Regions from separate parts of the Homo sapiens genome. Here all the other regions are linked to region 3. Evidence: promoter capture Hi-C in 16 types of primary human blood cells and fetal thymus (Javierre and others, 2016). All regions are on one chromosome and are shown on one strand. Each heading gives the region's core, a stretch centred on a gene start or on the middle of the fragment in contact. The rest is flanking DNA. Distances are from core to core; before and after follow the strand shown.

Region 1 (3,370 bases), core at 492-2,991, 550 kb after region 3:
GTTGGGCCTCAGGGTGGTTGACTCATTGCTCTGTAGGATGCAGTCGAAACTGCTAGAGTTGACTGTGAGACCAGGAACTGGCAGCCGCGAGGGCTGTCTGTCCTTCCCTCCAGGAGCAGTGCCGTCGCCCTCCACCTACTGCGCTTATTCTTGCCCATCCATCGGTTTCAGCTTACGCGTCCCCTCCTCAGGGATGCCTTCCCTGGTCCCCGCACCCGACTCCACTTCCTCCCTCCGTGCTCTGCTGGCACTGGCGCTTCTCCTCTGCAGCCCTCCCTGCAGGTGTGGTTGTGTCTGTAGAATTGTTTTCTGCCTGGCTGGCTGCCTGGTTCACAGCCCGGTGCCTGGCACAGAGTCCCCACTCCTTGTTAACGGAGGACTGGACCCCACCGTGAGTTGTTGCTGTGCTCTGAGCCAGAGGAAGGGAGGCGTGGAAGCTTCCCTGGCCCTCCAGGGTCTGCTGGTGCTCTCGGCTTTGCGGTCGTTTCTCTTTATTGATCAGGGTTTTCTGTGCCCTGAAGCCACTGAGTCAGGTGTCATATAGAGCATATCAAGAACTTGAAGCCAGGCCAGGCACATGGGCTCACACCCGTAATCCCAGCACTTTGGGAGGCCAAGGTGGGAGAATCTCTTGAGGTCAGGACTTCAAGACCAACCTTTGTAACATAGTGAGACCCCATCTCTACAAAAAATAATTAGCCAGGCATGGTGGCACACAACTGTAGTCCTAGCTGCTCCGGAGGGTGAGGTGGGAGGGTCTCTTGAGCTCGGGAGTTGGAGGCTGCATTGAGCTATGATCACACCACTGCACTCCAGAAAAAATAAAAATGTAAAAGAACTTGAAGCCAGGACTTGGGGCGGGTGCTCTGAGTGCAAAAGACAGAAGATGCTGTTATCCAAGGGGTAGAAGCAGATTTGGGGACCCTGGACTTCTCTCTGCACTCAGCAGGATGTGTGACTTGTGAAGCCTGGTGTGAGACTGGCCCTCTGCCCTGGGGGCCTTTCTGCCAGGTCCCTGGCCCGCTGACTCACGCCCCCTTCCTTACCCAGGAGAGTCGCGGTTGCTGATCGTGGTGCTTGAGTAGAGCCGTGGTTGGTGACAGCATGACGAGCGAGGTGATAGAAGACGAGAAGCAATTCTATTCCAAGGCCAAGACCTACTGGAAACAAATCCCACCCACGGTGGACGGCATGCTTGGGGGGTATGGCCACATCTCCAGCATCGACATCAACAGCTCCCGGAAGTTTCTGCAGAGGTTTTTGAGGGTAGGCAGGTCTGGCGTGCTCTCCAGGAGAGGCTGTGGCTCTGGTGGCACTGCCGAGTCCATGTGGGGTGCCACCTTTTACACATGTAACACTGCAGGATTGTTGGCTATCTCTTGGTACCTACCCCAAAGCCTTGAGGAGCTGGGCTGGGTGGGCACAGTGGGGTAACTTCTAGATTGTGGACTTAGCCTCAGGGTTACCAGACAGGAGCTGGCTGTTAGGCAGAATTGAGGTGCCTGAATTGGGCAAACCTCTCTTCAACTGTTGGGTTTTGCCAGGGACGAAACCCTTGCTCTCCTGCCATGTCCACGGGTGTTTGGACTGAGGGTGTTGGCTATTCTGGACGAAGACTCCTAGTTATGTGCCATGGTTTCCACCCTCTGCTCCACCCCCAGCCTTTTCTGTACCAGGCTGGGACCCCCAGTCCTGGAGCCCCCCACCTTCTTGTCTCATGGCTGGCACTGGAGGCTGCTGTTGGCCACCTGCTCCATCCAGCGCCTCCCCTCCCTCCATGTTCCCTCTCTGCACCCTTGTTCACCTGTTGCCCCGCTTCCATTCTCCCCATTCCTCTCTGCCGTTGTTTACCTGGAGACTCAGGAGAGATTAGTGCACCTGTTCAAGTTATCACCTTTAAGTGGAAATTAGCTTTCATTTAGAAATGTGTGGCCCAGGGCAGGGGCAGTGGCTCACTCCTGTCATCCCAGCCCCTTGGGATGCCAAGGTGAGAGGATTGCTTGAGCCCAGGAGTTTGAGACCAGCCTGGGCAACAGACCGAGGCCCCGTCTCTACAAAAAATACAAAAAAAAAAAAATGAGTTGGGCATGGTGGCGCATGCCTGTAGTCCCAGCTACTTGGGAGGCTGAGGTGGGAAGATGGAGGATGGCTTGAGCCCAGGAGTTCGAGGCTACAGTGAGCCATGATCCCACCACTGCATTCCAACCTGAACAGAATGCAGAATGCAACCTGAACTTTCAAAGATAAAGGAATGTGTGGCCCAGCAGTGTGTCCTCCCATGCTCATCCCCTCGACTCCGTACAAGCTGGCAGCCAGCACAGACCTCCCCACCAGTGCTCAGCTTGTGCGGAGTCCTGGAATCCTGACTTGAGTCTAAGTCCTAGGGCTCGTGAGGAAGGGCCGCACGTGCGGTGACAGGGTCCCTCTGATAGGTTATATGCCTCTGCTTTTCAGGAAGGCCCGAACAAGACAGGAACGTCCTGTGCCCTGGACTGTGGAGCTGGCATTGGGAGGATCACCAAGCGGCTGCTCCTGCCGCTGTTCAGAGAGGTGGATATGGTCGACATAACGGAGGACTTCCTGGTTCAAGCCAAGACCTACCTGGGGGAGGAGGGCAAGAGGGTGAGGAACTACTTCTGTTGTGGGCTCCAGGACTTCACCCCGGAGCCGGACTCTTACGACGTGATCTGGATCCAGTGGGTGATAGGTGAGGGTTCCACCGCCCTTCCCTGCTCACCTGTATGTCTCCTGCCACTCGCGTTCCCCATAAGGTGTCAGGACCAGGGCTTTGCACTCCTGCAGCAAGTGGGCCAGTGAGGATTCCCCACCCCGCCCAGGCCCACCCCCACCCCGTACTTCCCAGGACTGAGGGACAGGCTCGGCCTAAAAGGTAGATTTCTTCCTTCTAGGTTTTGTTTCAGTTGAATACCTGCTACCATCCATTTGGGTGCAGTTTTTTGTTGAAAAAATTTTAATGGCCAATAACTTACTGCATTCAAAGTGAGGAGTTTTATAAGGGTTTTATTTTTAATAAGATGAATAGTTTAAGCTTCGTGTCTAGCCCTGCACCCTCTTAGCCTAACAGCACACCTCGAGCGCTGTGCCCTGGGCTGCTGACGTGGCGGCAGGCCGCTAGCAGCAGTCGGCCACCTCCTGAGGCGGGCAGCACAGGCCTGCTGTGGACACTCTAGGTCTGGCCTTGTATTTTGTGGTCTCAGAAGCCTTTGTGGGGACTTCTAGTGTAGGGAAGGCAGTCTCTCTGGGAGCTCCTGCAATGCCAAACTCTTAGCCCAGGTTCACTCCTCCGATCCAAGCCTGGCAGGGGTGGGGCATCATGGTGTGTAGGTATCAGGCAGGACTTGTAAGCCAT
Region 2 (3,170 bases), core at 233-2,732, 690 kb after region 3:
ACCAGCCTGGGCAATACAGGGAGATCTTGTCTCTACAAAAAGTTAAAAAAAAAAAAAATAGCCAGGCATGGTGGTGTATGTCTGTGGTCCTAGCTACTTAGGAGGCTGAGGAGGGAGGATCACTTGAGGCTGGGAGGTCGAGGCTGCAGTGAGCCATGATCATGCCACTGCACTCCAACCTAGGTGCAAGAAAGAAAGAAAAGAAAGAGAGAAAGAGAGACAGAGAGAAAGAAAGAAAGGAAGAAAAAAGAAAGAAAGAAAGAAACAAAGAAACAAACAAACAAAGAAGGAAGGAAAGAAACAAAGAAAGAAAGAAACCAACAAAGAAAGAAAGAAAGAAGGAAGGAAGGAAAGAAAGAAAGAAACAAAGAAAGAAAGAAAGAAAGAAAGAAAGAAAGAAAGAAAGAAAGGAAGGAAGGAAGGGGAGAGAGAAGGAAGGGAGGGAGGGAGGGAGGGAGGGAGGAAGGAAGAAAGGGAGGGAAGGATGGGTTTGTCTCTCAACGTAAGAACCAAAATGAAGACATGTGTGTCTACCAGGTGAGGAGAGAAGTACGGAGAAGAAAGGGGAGGGTTGGTGGGTCCCCCAGGAGCCTGGTTGGCTGGTTGGAAACCAGAGGGTGTACTGGACAAGGCCCAGAATGCGGACCTGCCTGGGCCCCAATAAGGGGTCCCTCCCCATCCACAGGTAGACGCATCGCCCCGAGGTAGACACATGTCCCCTAGGGAAGAAGCCTTCGGCTACTCCTCACGTGCAAGTCACATGCTCCTCTCCCTGCTGGCACCACCATGGCCACAGCTGATGGGCAGGGGTGAGCACCTGGCTGCAAGCAGCCAATGGCGAGGCCAGCCAGCAGCCAATGAAATCAACAGCCCGATGTGGGCCTGGGCTGAGACCCACCCCCCAGAGGAGGCTGGGCTCGTGGCCAAGGACTCGGCTGCCAGCAGCAGGAGCGGCCACAAGAATGTGTACCCCTGGGGATGACAAGAAGCCCCTACAGTGAAATCCACTTCGGCTCTTCACGGGCCCTGGGGTCTTCACCTGGGTCCTGTGCCCACGAGGTCTTGGGCCCCAGCATCCTCACAGTAAACCCCTTTATCCCGGGGTCCTCAGTGCACGTCTGGCCCAGCAACGGCAATGAAACCAACAAACTGCCACACACTAGAGCTGGGTCCTGCGGCTCTGCCACCTGCTCTGTCAAACGCTGGGGTCCCCAGAAGCCACGGCCCCTGCCAAAGGTCATTTTGGGTCTCATTTGTCATCTGGGTACTTAGGGTAAAACGATATTTTCTGTGCAAGCCCCTCATTGCTTCCCTGTCTCTCCCATCCCCTAACTCCACCACCATGAAGGCCTCCCTGCTCTCACCCACTCCAAGAGCTGGATTTTCCCTGGCACAGAGAGCATAGCACCGACCCAGACAAGCCCTTTGCCACATGCGTCCTGCCAGGCATGATTCTGGCCACAAGGATGCATCAACTGCCACTGGAGCTGTGGGTGTGTTGTCACTGTGAAGCACATTGCAGCAGCAGCTGAGAGGAGAGACCAACCAGCACCCTGGGGAGGGGGCTGCATGCAGAGGTTGGGAAGTCACACTTTGGCTTCAAGCCAAGCAGAAGATCTGGCCCAAGAAAACAGGCTCATACCTCCTGGACAGGGTGGCCAAGAGACAGAGCTTCAGCTCAGGCTGGGACGCCAGTTGGGCAATAAAATTAATGACAATAATTATTATTATATAACAATGTTGATGACATTACTGGCCAACTTTACCTGCCAGACACTATGCTTGGTGCTTTATGTAGATCAGTTCATTGCCCTCATGTAGCAATCCTAGGAGGTGGGTCTATTATTATCTCTATTTTATTTTATTTTATTTTATATTTTTTAGAGGCAGAGTCTTGCTCTGTCACCCAGGCTGGAGTGCAATGGTGTGATCTTGGCTCACTGCAACCTCTGGCTCCCAGTCTCAAGCAATTCTCCTGCCTCAGCCTCCCGAGTAGCTGGGACTTCAGGTGCGTGCCACCACACCTGGCTAATTTTTTTTGTATTTTTTAGTAGAGACAGGGTTTCACCATGTTTGCCAGGCTGGTTTTGAACTCCTGACCTCAGGTGATCCACCTGCCTTGGCCTCCCAAAGTGCTGGGATTACAGGCATGAGCTACCTCGCCCGGCCTAATATCCCCATTTTAGAGATGAGAAAATTGAGGTTCAGAGGAGTGACATGACTTAACCAATGTCTGTGCTAAACTACAGTAAGATAGATAGATAGATAGATAGATAGATAGATAGATAGATAGATAGATAGATAGATAGATACCTATGTCTAACTACCTACCTACCTACCTATTGACCTATCTACCTACCTACCAACCTGCCTATCTCTCTATCTATGTGATATATATGAAAAAGACTCTTCAGAGAACTGACTCTGCTGATGCCCAGAATAGGGTGCGGGAGACTCATCAAGCTGATCTCCCATGCTGGGCCCAGCTGGATGTTCTGACTTTACCCAGAGTATCCAGATTTCAATTAACTATCTCGGAACCACAGTAAAGGAGCGTGTGCGCTATAGTTGATTGCTCAGCCCGAGCACAGGGCTGGGTAATCTTACTCCCAGAGGGTTCTGAGGTTGGAGCCTGGAATGGACCAGCTCTCTCCCTTGCCATTCAGCCCCACCCCCACCCCTGGAGCCAGGGACTCAAGCAGCCCAGCTTGACAGTCCTGGGAGGCCTGACCCCCGGCTGGGATCTCGTCATCAGCAATGCACCCAGGCTCTGGGGACAGCATGGTCTAGGGCCTCTGAATTGGCCATTATCCTAGCGGGAAGAAATGCTTCTCCCTCCAGGCTGAAAGCTGTCTTTGCTCCCAGTGATCACTTGCTCCCCAGCTCTGCACAGATTGACCCGCACACCTAGGCAGGCAAACACAGCAGTCCTAAGACCAAGAGCCAGGGTGAGGCCCTGGCAGAACAGCCATTGGAATGGGATGCCGGAGTGTCCCCAGATGGCGCCCGGGGGTGGGGTGGACCTCTTGCCACAGCAGAGTCTCCAACTGGAGCCTGGGGTTCACCCAAGACAGCCGTGGCCCTCCCTCTCACCACTTACCCCGTCCCCAGGCGCCTCTGCCTGAGCTCATCAGGCAATGACCGCAGTGACGTCACCCGGGAGGCCACGG
Region 3 (3,309 bases), core at 739-3,238:
CTCTCAGTGGGATTTCCTGGGTAATTCTCAACTCACCTCAGGGGCGCTCGTGTCACTTATCAGACACTTGCTCTAGGTCTGGTCTGGACCAGGCTCAGGATGTACCAGGCCCTGTCCTCATGTTGCCCAGGGTTTCTCCAGTGGTGGCTGTAACCACCTGTATCAGAACCACCAGAGCACATAAGAATGCAGACACCTGGGCTCCAACTCAGACCTACTGGATCAACCCAGGCCCCATTGTGACCCAGGAATCTGTGTTTTCTACAGGCTGATCTCAGCACTCCATGAATCTGAGAGCCGCTGCTGACTGGGAGGGATAGGGAGCCGATTACAGTCCAGTGAGGTCAGGGCTGAGAAAGGACAGGAAATGCAACCGTGAGAGCCCAGTACTGGCCCCTCACTTGACTGTGGAAACCTGTAAGCCGAGGAGACACCTGAACCAGATTGGGCCGGGCAAAGTAGGGCAGGAGAGGCAGTACATCCCACGCAGCAAAACAGCACATGGTGGCCAGGGGCGGTGGCTCACACCTGTAATCCCAGCACTTTGGGAGGCCGAGGTGGGCGGATCACGAGGTCAGGAGATCAAGACCATCCTGACCAACACGGTGAAACCCCGTCTCTACGAAAAGTACGAAAATTAGCCGGGCGTGCCACTGCACTCCAGCCTGGGCAACAGAGCGAGACTCCGTCTCAAAAAAAAAAAAAAAAAATTAGCTGGGCATGGCGGCTCACGCTTGTAATCTCAGCATTTTGGGAGCCGAGGCAGGTGGATCACCTGAGGCCAGGAGTTCGAGACCAGCCTGCCCAACATGGTAAGACCCGGTCTCTACTAAAAATGCAAAAATTAGCCGGATGCGGTGGTGCGCGCCTGTAGTCACAGCTACTCGGGAGGCTGAGACAGGAGAATCACTTGGACCCAGGAGGCTGAGCAAGATCGTTCCACTGCACTCCAGCCTGGGCCTCAGAGCAAGACCCTGTCTCAAAAAACAAACAAACAGACAAAAACAGCACATGCTAGCGGCAGGAGACAAGAGGCTGAGCCCTCCCAGCCCACCTTACCTGCACTGTAATCCAATCCAGCCAGAGACAGAGTCGGGTAGGAGAGGTGAAGGCGGGTGGGAAGGTGTGGCTGTTCACGCAGGAATGTCTTGGGAAAACTGAGGGGTAGGTGGAAAACCGACTTCTTGTTTGAAATGCTCCCAAGACGCCTCATTAAGTAGCATAGACGTGACTGAATCAATAAATCTTTATTAAATGAATGAAAGGAGGAAGGAGTCCTTAACTGTAGCTAAGCTTCCACTCTTAAGTATCAATTAAGCTTCTCTGTTCAGTCCAGCGTTTAGGGCGCCTACTGCGCGCCCCGCCCCACACACTTTTGACAAAAAGGTCGCCTGCTCTGTGTGACTTGCCCTTTCGCCGGCCAGTATGGGGCAGAGGGAAATAAGCCCCCTCTGCTCTCTGGTCTCAGTTTACTCGTAACTGAAAGTGGGTCGGTTCAAACCCCCTGGAGCTGAGGTTGCCTCTCCTCTTCGAGCACGCGCTATCGGACGCGCAGGTCCCCAAGACCGCGGATCGGCAGGGGGTACCAGGGAAGCCTTCATTCAGGGCGCAGGTCCCAGCCGAACCAAAGCTCCCACCAAAGTTCAACACGCCCCCAAAGCCAGCGCCTGATTGGCCCGCCCTGCCCACAAGCTGAGGCAGCCTCACCTTCTGATTGGCTGTTATGCTCCCTGTTCGGTGCTGGAACCCTCCCCTTCTCTGATTGGCCAGATGCCTACCTGCGCTCGCCCCAGATTGGGCGCCAGCTGGGGCGGCTCGTTGGCTCCCAGGGGCCCCGCTCTCTGATTCGCCGCTCGGGCCAGCCCCCACGGCCTGCACGCTGAATGGCTGCGCCGCTACCTATATTGGCCTCCGATTGGGTGCACGGCGCCTCCCCGGCGTGATAGGTCAGGACCACCGCCCCCCTGGCTCCCCATTGGCTGCTCGAAGAAGCCCGGTCTCCGGGTAAGATGGCAGCGGACGGACAGTGCTCGCTCCCCGCTTCATGGCGGCCGGTGACCCTCACCCACGTCGAATATCCTGCAGGTAAAAGGCGGTCCCGGCTCCAAGGACGCCTTCCCAGGGACGGCCTCTCAGTCCCGGGCGCTCCGGCCTGCTCGAGCCCGCGGAGGGGGCGCCGGGGGACCGGGGTGGGAACTGTCAAATAGTGAACCACGGAGGGGCTCGGCCGGCGCGCGCGCCGCGCAGGCGCAGTGGTGCGAGGATGAGCTGGGCGAAATTGTGAGGCGCTCGCTCGCGCACTCTGCGGCTGCGCGGCCAGGGCGCTCCCCCGGGTCCCGGGGCGCCGGTGGGCTGAAATGGGTTGAGGATCTGTGTGAGGCGAGAAAAGATCCCTGGCCTGGACCTTGGCCCTTCTTCCCCGCCCTCCCCTGTCCCAGAGAGGCCGCACTCCTGTTCCAGCGTGCAGGGAGTGTCTTGTTTCCTTCGAACAGTGCTTTGGGCTGCTTGTAAGAGAAAGAGCTCCCCGTTGCTGGGAGTGTGCAAGCCGAAGCCAGGCTTTTGAGTACTTGTGGTGCCACGCCCTGAGCAGGGCACGATTCCACAACAGAGAGGACCCGATGAGGGGGCGGGCAGCCTCCGGGAACTTGACTTCTGTTGCTTCCCATCAGACACACCTCTCGAAGTGCAGGGCTTTCCAGTTGAGAGGTCCATTAGCGGCGTTCTGGAGGCTGTCTAGTAAGAGTGGCGCAGAGCCTGGGCGTGGGGGTCAGACCCATCTGGGCTCCAGTTGAGGCTGAGGCCTTGTGCAGGTGCCTGCCTCTGCTTAAGTTAATTCATCTCTAAAGTGGGACTGATTACAGTGCTTACCTTCTGGTGATGGTATGAGCATCAAATAGCAGGAGGCACAAGAAGGGCTGAGTACAGTGCCCGGCATGCAGTAAGCGTTCAGTAAATACCTGCAGTTAATGTTATCCCACCTTGCAAGACCCTCCCTGGGTAAGATGGTTGAGTGCCAGGGAAGGCTGGAGCCCCTCATTGAGCCCTGGTTGCCTGGGAAGGGCCTGCTCATGCTGCTGTCTTGCGAGATGTGAGAACCTGGGTCCGCTGAGGGCACCAGGACTGAATGCCAAAGAACGTTGACGCTGGTGTTCTGGGTTGTACTGGGGGTGGTATGGCCCTGCCAGGTCCTGGGCCCTGCCTGCCTGCCTGTCTACCATTCATTCATCCATTCATTCATTCAGTCAATATCCACTGAACACTTCTGAGTGCTAGGCCCTGGGCTAGCTCTGGTTTTTAGAATGCTTAACA

Evidence for each region. Contacts are between HindIII fragments. The CHiCAGO score rates a contact against its expected background, and 5 or more counts as called.
Region 1: a contact is called between a fragment that was not itself captured here and the fragment with the promoter of DOLPP1 in region 3, in 6 of 17 cell types (endothelial precursors, neutrophils, non-activated CD4 T cells and 3 more). The highest score is 8.6, in endothelial precursors.
Region 2: a contact is called between a fragment that was not itself captured here and the fragment with the promoter of DOLPP1 in region 3, in 1 of 17 cell types (monocytes). The highest score is 7.4, in monocytes.

Annotation. Positions count from the first base shown.
Region 1 is chr9:129,631,600-129,634,969 of GRCh38, forward strand. NTMT1 (N-terminal Xaa-Pro-Lys N-methyltransferase 1) reads left to right here. Exons shown (of 4, transcript NM_014064.4): 2 at 1,051-1,266; 3 at 2,455-2,707. The coding sequence starts at 1,105. ASB6 (ankyrin repeat and SOCS box containing 6) reads right to left here. Exons shown (of 6, transcript NM_017873.4): 6 at 3,006-3,370. Among named protein-coding and RNA genes, the nearest start is that of NTMT1, 7.1 kb to the left of the region's middle. RefSeq lists an enhancer at 1-542. The HindIII fragment of the contact is 2,612 bases long and covers 436-3,047 here.
Region 2 is chr9:129,774,119-129,777,288 of GRCh38, forward strand. No RefSeq gene overlaps it. Among named protein-coding and RNA genes, the nearest start is that of PTGES, 23 kb to the left of the region's middle. RefSeq lists enhancers at 948-1,514, 2,906-3,170, 3,052-3,170. The HindIII fragment of the contact is 3,905 bases long and covers 1-3,170 here.
Region 3 is chr9:129,079,123-129,082,431 of GRCh38, forward strand. It overlaps DOLPP1 (dolichyldiphosphatase 1), which reads left to right and starts at 1,989. Exons shown (of 8, transcript NM_020438.5): 1 at 1,989-2,085. The coding sequence starts at 2,010. RefSeq lists a silencer at 1,687-2,416. The HindIII fragment of the contact is 2,856 bases long and covers 1,317-3,309 here.